3 separate regions of the Homo sapiens genome follow, and regions 2 and 3 are each linked to region 1. The links are contacts of gene promoters, found by promoter capture Hi-C in blood cells and fetal thymus (Javierre and others, 2016). All regions are on one chromosome and are shown on one strand. The core of a region is centred on a gene start or on the middle of the fragment in contact, and the rest is flanking DNA. Distances in the headings are between cores, read along the strand shown.

What was found. Contacts are between HindIII fragments. The CHiCAGO score rates a contact against its expected background, and 5 or more counts as called.
Region 2: a contact is called between a fragment that was not itself captured here and the fragment with the promoter of RTRAF in region 1, in 3 of 17 cell types (total CD8 T cells, naive CD8 T cells and total CD4 T cells). The highest score is 7.4, in total CD8 T cells.
Region 3: a contact is called between a fragment that was not itself captured here and the fragment with the promoter of RTRAF in region 1, in 2 of 17 cell types (megakaryocytes and total CD8 T cells). The highest score is 5.4, in megakaryocytes.

Annotation. Positions count from the first base shown.
Region 1 is chr14:51,987,690-51,991,069 of GRCh38, reverse strand. RTRAF (RNA transcription, translation and transport factor) reads right to left here and starts at 1,524. Exons shown (of 8, transcript NM_016039.3): 1 at 1,370-1,524. The coding sequence starts at 1,430. LOC105370497 (a long non-coding RNA gene) reads left to right here and starts at 486. Exons shown (of 3, transcript XR_007064166.1): 1 at 486-551; 2 at 2,381-3,380. RefSeq lists enhancers at 1,045-1,104, 1,445-1,739. The HindIII fragment of the contact is 14,873 bases long and covers 570-3,380 here.
Region 2 is chr14:52,480,825-52,484,204 of GRCh38, reverse strand. It overlaps TXNDC16 (thioredoxin domain containing 16), which reads left to right. Exons shown (of 21, transcript NM_020784.3): 13 at 1,240-1,383; 14 at 1,916-1,975. Among named protein-coding and RNA genes, the nearest start is that of TXNDC16, 70 kb to the left of the region's middle. The HindIII fragment of the contact is 2,463 bases long and covers 321-2,783 here.
Region 3 is chr14:52,290,862-52,294,241 of GRCh38, reverse strand. No RefSeq gene overlaps it. Among named protein-coding and RNA genes, the nearest start is that of PTGER2, 22 kb to the left of the region's middle. The HindIII fragment of the contact is 220 bases long and covers 1,614-1,833 here.

The sequences.
Region 1 (3,380 bases), core at 275-2,774:
GTGCCTCAGACTCTTCAGCTACAAAATGAGGGTGCTAATAGAACTTACCTCATAGAGTTATGAAGATTAAAAGAAGTTGTTTTATTTAAGAAGTTTCTTAAATAAAATAAATACGGATAAAAACAGTGCCTGGCACATAGTTTTGCTATTTAAGTGTTACATATTAATATTCCAGTTCCTTTGCGGACAGAAAGGGGAAGGAGGGCAAGGTTAAATTTATAGCAAAGTAATAAAGTAAAATATACAACAAAATAATAAGTAAAAGAAATTAAATGACAAAAAAGACACTGTGACAACTGTTGTCATGGAATGTTAACTGCACATTAAGTGCATAATTGTTTCGTTTAATCCTCCCCATACCTCTTTTGAGGTAGGTAATATCCCATTTTACAGATAAGAACATTGAGACTCAAAGATTCCAATCCAGAACAAGGCTCTATTGTCACTGATACTTTTTTGTTAAAGTAGAAAAACAATAGATTATAATTTGATATGCTTCTACAGGCGATCAACAAAACACTGTCATCCTGCTTAGAAATTATTTTCAATTTGTGAGTCAAATTCAAGCTTCCATTATAAGGTCTTGAGAATTACACAGTGGTCTGAGTATCACAAGTTATACTTGATCACTTTCAAACTTACCAGTCTATCACAGGCCACAACTATACAAAGGAAACGAGTAGTGGTGGGTAGCAGTTTAGTTACAGTGAGTAGCAACGTTATTACTTTTTAAAATTCTAATGCTGTAAAATCCCAAATACCTTTGTATTCACAATTCAACCTTCCCACTCATCTGCTATTAACTTTTTTGCAACACCACATAACACAACTAGCCCGTTACTACACGCGCTTACCCTCCCACTGTGATCGGTCCTGATTTCATTGTGTACTGTCTCAAACTGCTCAGTGGGTTCTGATTGCTTCCACCCCTCGTCCCTTTAGCTCCTGGCAGGCAGTGAACTAGTCTTCAAGTTACTCAGCACCTTCCTCAGAATCCAGCACCGCGCTGGCCCATAATTAGCAGGTGCTCAAGGTATCGCCTAATTACCCAGGGAACCATGGAGTTGAATAGTGAGTGAGAAAGACGAATGCTCTCCCTTTTATGTACAGAGAAGGTAGTTACGTGATGCTTGGAGTTAAGCAAGTGCAGAAAGTAACATGCCGAGACAGGAGTAGGTGAGAGGGCTTTAAAGGCGGGAAGGGGCGGCGAAGAGCCGAGGTACGTGGCGACCCAGAGGAGAGGGGCCCGGAGGCTGCCGGCGGAAACCAGGCCGCCGAGGGTCCCGACGGGGAGGTGGGGTGCGGGCACTGAGGCTGGGACCTCCGCCCAGGTCAGGGACACGCGGCCGGGCTGAGGCCGCCGCCTCACCTTTGCAGTTGAAGCCGGCGGGGTTGTGGTAGTCGAGAGCCGTCAACTTGCGTCGGAACATGGTCCCCGCTTCTCGCTCTGGTCCCCCGGGCCTCGGCCGGGAGAGAAGAAGCGAGGTGGAGCGGGAGGCGCAGGCACCGGCGACGCGGCGAGAGGGCGGGCAGGCGCTGAGTCGCTCCGAAATGACGGCGGCCTTCGCCAATCGTGGCTTAAAAGCGGTGGCCGCCGGCAAATGCCCACCAATCGCGGCTCCGGCTGGGGAGGCGGGGCCACGTCGGCGCACGTCGACGCTCAAATAAACTTTATTGTCAGCTTCCTGGTTGTACAATAGGCAGAAAACCACCGGGAAGCCACTTTCCTTTCTTTCTTGCTATAGCATGCAGAGAATAGTATATGTAGGCTTTTGGTATTCGCTGTACCTCCCGTTGGATTACAGAATTACTGTTTAGTGTTTTGAGTGCATTCATTCATTTTATTACTCCTCCTACATAACAGGTGCTCTTCTAACACTGGTAATACAAAGACTACAAAGCAAGGTCCCTATAGTAAGATGCTTTCAGACTAATTGGGAGTGATCCACAGGTAAACATACAATTGTTAATACGATGCGATCGTTCCAGATATCCTCAGCCAGAGTGAAATCTGAAGCCGAGATCGTCCCTCACTCCCCCTCACCCTCGGTCACAGCATCCAGTAGGTCACCAATTCCTGCCATTCTGTCTCTCCTAACTCTCAAATCCCTCACCTCCTTTCGGACCCCACTGATACAGCCACAGATCAGATCCTCATCACTTTTGCTTACTCTAATTATCTGATTGATTTCTTAGGGCCAGTCCTGCGTTCTCCAAACCATTCCTCCATACAGCGATGAGAGAGATTTTTCTAAAGCAAAAACCTGTACATAACTTTCTCTGCTTATGTTTTAGTGGTTCCTGGTTACCCCCTAGAAATAATCAAAACTCCTTATTGTATTTAAGATCTTTCCTGATCCAGTCTCTACTTGCTTTTCAGACAGTGGAGAGAGAGCAGTGAACAAGACAGACCAGGCCCCTATTTTCATGGAGTTTAAAAGGCTAATGAGGGAAACAATAAACAGATAAGTATAAACTAAGGCTTGAAGATGGTGAGGCATTCACCATGCAGTCAAAAGGGTAACCTAGTTTGAGGGAAGAGGATGTATAAAGGCAAGAAATGAGCAACAGCATGGCCCAGAGGGACTAGAGCTTATAGGGGCTGGAGGGTGAGAGGGAATGACAGCTGATAAGACTATAGACAAAGGCAGGGCTCTGATAAGGAAAAGCCTCTCATGGCAAGCTAAGGGGAGCTATTGAAATTCTTGGGGGTAAGCCAACTATGTACGTTTCATTTCATTTCATTAATTAAGATTTTAATTAAACACTTAGGATCTGAGGAGCATACAAATGAGTAAACTACAGTCTCTATTTTCAGGAAGTTTAAGTATAATGACAAATATAGATGTGTAAATAAATACTTATAATCTGGAGTTAGAAAGAGTAAGTGAATTACAAGAAATATAAAATGTACTACAAAGAAGTACAGGCCAGGTGCAGAAGCTCATGCCTGTAGTCCCAGCACTTTGGGAGGCTGAGGTGGGAGGATAGTTCAAGCCCAGGAGTTTGAGACCAGCCTAGGCAACATAGTGAGACTTTGTCTCTATTAAAACTAAAAAAAAAAAAAAAAGAAGAAAGAAAAATTAGCCTGGCATGCTCGTGTGTGCCTGTGGACCCAGCTACTCAGGAGGCTGAGGTGGGAGGATCACTTGAGCCTGCAAGGTTGAGGCTGCAGTGAGCCATGATCACACCAACCTGTGCAACATGTAAGACCCCATCTCAAAAATAATAATAATAAAAAGAAGTACAGAGGCTAGAATACAGCTTTAGTTTTAAGGGGGCACTGTAAGATAATCTGTATTTTTCAATTAAGGTGCTTATAGAGTGAATCAAGAAAATCAGTTCAAGAGTGTCTCATTTCCAACAAAATTTGATCAAAG
Region 2 (3,380 bases), core at 303-2,802, 490 kb before region 1:
CCCCCCTTATTGTTTTGTAGCAAATCCAAAACATGTAATTTCATCTATAAGTATTTCCCTGGGTTTCAGAAATATAAGGATTTTCCTTTTTAACATTAACATAATTAATACTATTATTACATCTAAAAAATTAACAATTCTTAATACCATCGTATATCCAGTCAGTGTTTGAACTTCTGATTGCACCATGCTCTTACATGCCACTGTGCCTTTGCTCATGCCATTCTCTTTGCTCTTTATGCCACCACTGCCTTTCTTCTCTGCCTACCTGAGTTTTATTTTCCTTTTCATGTTCATGTTTTCATGTTCATAAAGAAGCTTTATCCTTTAATCAAGTTATATGCTCCATCTGTCTTACCGTACAATCTCTACAAACTTCCAACAGAATATTTATGAATCCAAATGTATTTTTGAAGGTACATGGATGGTTGGATGGATGGATGGATGGATGAATCTATCAGTCTATTGATTGGTCTATCTAAAGGAAGGGTTTCACATATTCAGAATCCACTCATAACTTGAGGCTTTTTGGATAAAATCCAGACTTCTTGGCTCATGTGACCTCTTATGATCTAGCCACTGCCTAGCCTAGAGTTTTCTCATGCTGTTTATTCTTTCAGCCCCATCTTGTCTTAGTCAAATTTGCCTTCCCTCAGCCTTGTATGTGCTCAACTCTTTTATGTCTCAGAGCTTTCGTATATGTTATTGTCTTTGTCTAAAACATTCTTTTCTTGATTCTCTACCTGGCAGACTTTGGGCTTCCCAATCTAAATAGCCCTGTTATAATCTCTCAGTGTATCCTTTACCTTTCTTCATAAATTGATCATAATTTATAATTATATATTTATTCAGTGATCAGTTTATCTGACTTTTCCATAGATAGAAGTTCCATGTGGTCAGGACTATGTCTGTTTTGTTTACCAGTTTTCCTAGTGCCTGTCATAATGCTTGGCATATAGTAGAGGCAAAATAAACAAAATGGCACTATTAATATTCTTTGTAGAACAAATTTTAATTTTGAAATTGACTAAAACTTCCCAACTTCTAGGTCAGGAAGCATCTCAGAGTCAGTTAAGCAACTGCAAAGTTTTCTAAATATCATGCATCCTAACTATTAAGATAGGATGAATTCAAAAGTTTGTATAAAGTACTGAATTATTATATGCTTCCTATGAGAAGAGCTTAAATAGTTTTCATTATACATCAATATTTAAATTAATTTCTTTTCCAACATTTTAGATGTTCAGGATGATGAAGTGGCAGAAACTGTTTTCAGAGATAGGAAGAGAAAATTACCTTTGGAACTTACAGTGGAACTAACAGAAGAAACATTTAATGCAACAGTGATGGCTTCTGACAGCATAGTACTCTTCTATGCTGGTTGTGAGTATGAGCCTTTAGAGGACTGTTACATATTAGGACATTTAAAAACCCAGATTTAATTTTTGGCATTCCATGTATTGCATGTTGTAAAATGAAATTGCTTTCGTATGTCTCAAGTAGACTGTGTGCATTGAAGCATTTACTTCTGATTCTGGGATTGTGCAATTGATTTATATCTGATTTACAAATTAAAGGTGAATGATTAAACTAGATGTTCATTAATTTTGAAAAATTGTGACTCACGCTAATGATTTTTAACATATTAACAGTTATTATAGATTTATAGTAAGTATATTGCTTTTATCTTCAAATCATAGCCATTTAGCTATATTCCTTGCAGTACAAGTGCGGAAAATCAGTTGCATTTGAAACTCTCTTAAGTGGTTGGACTATGTTGAGAAATGTATAGTAGAATATTTCTGATTAACAATAATTTTGGGAAACCTCATAAATCTGTATATTTGTTACATATCAGTGTGGATGCTTTGTAGATATACATGTAATATCTGTTGAATTTTTAATTTTCATATAGGGCAAGCAGTATCCATGGCATTTTTGCAATCCTATATTGATGTGGCAGTTAAACTGAAAGGTAGTGTACTGTGCTATGCATGCTTATTATTCTGATTCTAAGCTGTAGCTATTTGTAAAACTATGTCATGCAAAAAATATAGAAAACCACATAAAATTTCAGTTACTATGTTTGTGTCTCCAGGGTTAAGTTAATGAACCAGGAGTTTCAAGAGTGCTTAGGAGCATTCACTTTGATTTGTCTTCATAGAACTGTCTTTAGTAGAAAGTAGAAAGCCTATGTATTTAGTACTTGTGGCTACACAGTTAATACAACAACCTTTTTGGTTTAAGTCAGTCATTCAGCAAGCATTTATGAGTGCCTACTCTGTGCCAGTTACTCCAGTTAAATACTGGAAATAAAAATTTGGCAGATTCAAGACCCAGTCTCATGGTCTAATGAGAGATCAAAAATCCCCGTGTCCTTGAAACTATATAGTTTACTCCTCATGGATGGAATGCTTTTTAATATCCAGGATCTTTTTATGTTAACCATCCTGTGAAACCTCATTTAATAGTGGGCAAATAAAGATCCAAGGAATGGACTTTAACTGAAAATATCTGTGCTACCATCTCAGCAAAGACATAGGGGAAAATGAGGGAGGCCTGTTAGTAAGAGAGGTAATAATGGATTAGGTGTGCTTGATGTAAGTTCCTTATGGTTAGGTAGTGTGCCTTATATCAGCTTACTGGGCTTGGCATATTGCCTTACATTGCAGAATATCTGGTTTTCAATAATTGTTGGATAAATGAATAATAGAGTTTCATAAATTTTGTTTCATTTAGTGGAAACTATGTACTGATGTACAACTTATTTATACATTGAAGCTTTTGAAAACTCAAGAAATTGATTCTAGACACTCAACCCTAAGTGTACCATTCCTTTTTTAAAATTTTTTTTTATTTCCATAGGTTACTGGGGAACAGGTGGTGTTTGGTTACATGAGTAAATTCTTTGGTGGTGATTTGTGAGATATTGGTGCACTCATCACCTGAGCAGTATATACTGTGCTGCACCCAATTTGTGGCCTTGTATTTCTTACCCTATTCCCACCCTTTCCCCTTGAGTCCCCACAGTCCATTTTGTCTTTCTTATGCCCTTGCATCCTCATAGCTTAGCTCCCAAATATGAGTGAGAACATGTGATGGTTGGTTTTTCATTCCTGAGTTAGAATAATAGTCTCCAGTCTCATCCTGGTCACTGCAAATGCCATTAATTCATTCCTTTTTGTGGCTGAGTAGTATTCCATTATATATATATATATATATATATATACATATATATATATACACACACACACACACACCACAGTGTCTTTGTCCACTCGTTGATTGATGAGCATTTGGGTTGGTTCCATGTTTTTGCAATTGCAAATTGTGCTGCTATAAACGTGTGCAAGTATCTTTTTCATATAGTGACTTATTTT
Region 3 (3,380 bases), core at 474-2,973, 300 kb before region 1:
TAACTGAATAGAAAAGTGGAGAAAAGACCTGGACAGATCCTTCACAGACAGGGATATGCAAAGGACAATAAACATAGGAAAAGGTGTGGATCAGGGATATGCACATTAAAGCCACAATGTGATACCACTCGATACCCCCAGAACGGCTAAACCGAACTAGAAAGACAATAGGAAGTATTGATGAGCATGTGGATCAACTCGGCCTTTATACATTGCTGTGGAAGTATGAACTGACACAATCCACTTTGGAAGACCCCTTGGCAGTATTTACTAAGGGCAAAACTTATGACCTAGCAATTACATTCAGTTATATCCTTAATAGAAATGCATATGTATGTTCCCAAAAGATGTGTGAAAGGATGCTTATTACTTTTTTTTTTTTTCTTTGAGACAGAGTTTCGCTCTTGTTGCCCAGGCTGGAGTTCAGTAGCGTGATCTTAGCTCACTGCAACCTCCGCTTCCCGAGTTCAAGCGATTCTCTTGCCTCAGCCTCCTGAGTAGCTGGGATTACAGGTGCCTGCCACCACACCTGGCTAACTTTATTTTTTTGTATTTTTAGTAGAGACGGGTTTTCACCATGTTGGCCAGGCTGTTCTCAAACTCCTGACCTCAGGTGATCCACCCACCTTGGCCTCCCAAAATGCTGGGATTACAGGCATGGGCCAGTGCGCCCGGCTGCTTATTACTATTTGTAATAGGTTCAATTAGAAATAACTCAAATGTCCATCTGCAATAGATAGATTAATATATTGTGGTAAATTCATACGGTGGAATTCGTACAGTAGAACACTACAGCAAAGAGAATAAACAAAATATAACTCTGAACAACACGGACGGATTTCACAAGCATACTGCTGAGTGAAAGAAAACAAGTACATACTGATTCCATTTATATAAAGTTCAAAAGTGGACAAAATTCATGTATTAGAACTCAAGGTGGTTTCCTCTTGTGGGTGAAGTCAGTAGCTAAAAAAGGGATTTTGGAGGGGTTTGGGATTCTGTGTTTTTTGTTTTTTTTTTTTTTAATCTGGATATTAGTAACTTAGGTGTATTGCTTTGTGAAAATTCATTTCACTGTCTACTTATAATTCGTATATTTCTCTGTATGCATGTTATACTTCAGTAAAATTTTGAAACTTTTATAAAGAGACATTGAAAAGGACATAAATAAATTGAAAAGTATACAAAATTAATCAATAGATTCAGTGCAATTCCAGTGAAAATCCCAGCAGGTTTTGGTGGAACTAAAGCACTAAGATTAAAAGGGCCCCCTTCAAAGAGAGCTAGGTGGAAGCATTAATGTACCTAAGACAACAGGCCAATGGAATAGAAACAAACATACAAATATGGAAACTTCATATGTGACAGATATGATATTTAAGATCAATGGGGAAAAGATAAACTTTTTGATAAATGATACTTGGACAAGTGGTTATTTATATGGTGAAAGTACAAAACTGGATATTTATATCACACCATACACCAAATAAATCATAGGTGGGTTCAAATTCAAGAGTGAAAGGCAAAACTATAAAGCTTTTATAAAGTAGTATAGAAAAATATTTCATGATTTTAGGTTTAGAAAACATTTCTCAAATAAAACATGAAAAGCTTAGCCATAAAAGAAAAGTTTAAGAAATTAGATTCTAATAAAATAAAAATTTCTATTAATTAAAAGTCATCAAAAAGAGAGTGAAAAGACAGATTAAAGAATGGGAAAAGATTTTTCCAACACATAAAACTGACAAAGTAACAGTAGTTAGGACATCTATAAATCAATATGAAAAACAAACATTATATTTTTTAAAAAGGCAAAAGACTTGAACAGAAGCTTTATAAACTAGAATTTCCAAACAGCCAATAAATGTATGAGAAGGTGTGCAATATCATCATTATTAATATGAAAAATACATTAAAACCTCAATGAAATACCATTACAAACTTACCAAAATGGCTAAAACTAAAAATCTAACAATACAAGTGTTAGCAAAGATGTAGAGCAATGAAAACAATGCTGGTGTTAGTGTAAATTGGAAAACAATTTTTATGATATAATAAAAGGTGCACATATCCTATAACCCTGCAATCCCACTCCTAGATGTATGCCTTAGAGATACTCGTACACATGTCCAACACAAGACATAATAAGAACAGTTAAAACAGCATTGTTTATTTTTCTTTTCTTTTTTTGCCCCTTGAATCATAAAACAGCATTATTTCTAGTAGGCAAATCTAGAAATACCCCAAATGTCCATTGACAGCATGCGATATATTCATACCATGGAATACTATTTGGCCATGAAAATATAGGAACTCAGCTACACGTACAAAAAGTATGAATCTCACAAACATACTATATGGTGAATATCATCCAGATCTCCTTTTCCAAGCCATTGCCCCCAGCCCCTGTGGGTTATGGTTTCTAATGGCTCAGAGCTGGCCCCTTTTCTGGAAAATTGCCCTTGGCTCAAAGGGTACCACCGGGAACACGTGGGCCAAAAACTTAGTAACAGGCTTTCACAAGTGTCTTGGTGGGACCAACAGTGTGGTGCTATTCAAGCTCCAGAGCCCCCCCTTGAGATCAGGCAGAGCTGAGACCTCATCCTTGCCTTGATTCCGTCCCTGCCCTGTCCTGCTGCTTTCACCGCTTTTCTCCCGAAAGCAGGAGCTCCACAGGTCACATGCACCTGACTCTTTGTCCTAGACTGCATGTGAGGAATCCAAGCTAAGACACATTACTAAGCTTGAGAAAAAGACACTGAATACATATATTATGATGCACACATGGGGTAAGATAAAGAAAAGCAAAAGCATGATTTCTTAAAAGTCGGAACAGGGTTTATCTCGGTGAGGGGGAGGGACTGTGATCAGGGAAGGCACACAGGAGGCTTCTGGTACTGGCAGTATTCCGTTTCTTGACCTGCACAATGTCTACATGGATATTTACTTTATAATTACTATTTAACTGCATATGCATGTTGTACACACAATTTAGTATGTATAATGCATACAAAAAGAAGAAAAATTTCCATGTAATCAGAGAGACTTTTTGGTTTTAACTTAAATAAAAATGTATTTCCTAATCGAAGAAAATAAACTGTTAATTTCTGCTTTCTTATATTTATTGAGATTTTTCTTGTAGCCTAGTATATAATCAGAGCTTATAAATATTTCTTGTATCATATTTGTCAACAAAATATGCTATGGATTCATATATAATGGGATGCCCATTAATTTAATTATAATTCAATGAATTATATTAGTTATCTATGACTGCTGAAAAAAATCACCCCAAAATGTAGCAGCATGAAACAACATTTTCTCACCTCACGATTTCTGTGGGTGAGGAATCTGGGTGCAGCTTAGCTGGGTCCCCTAGC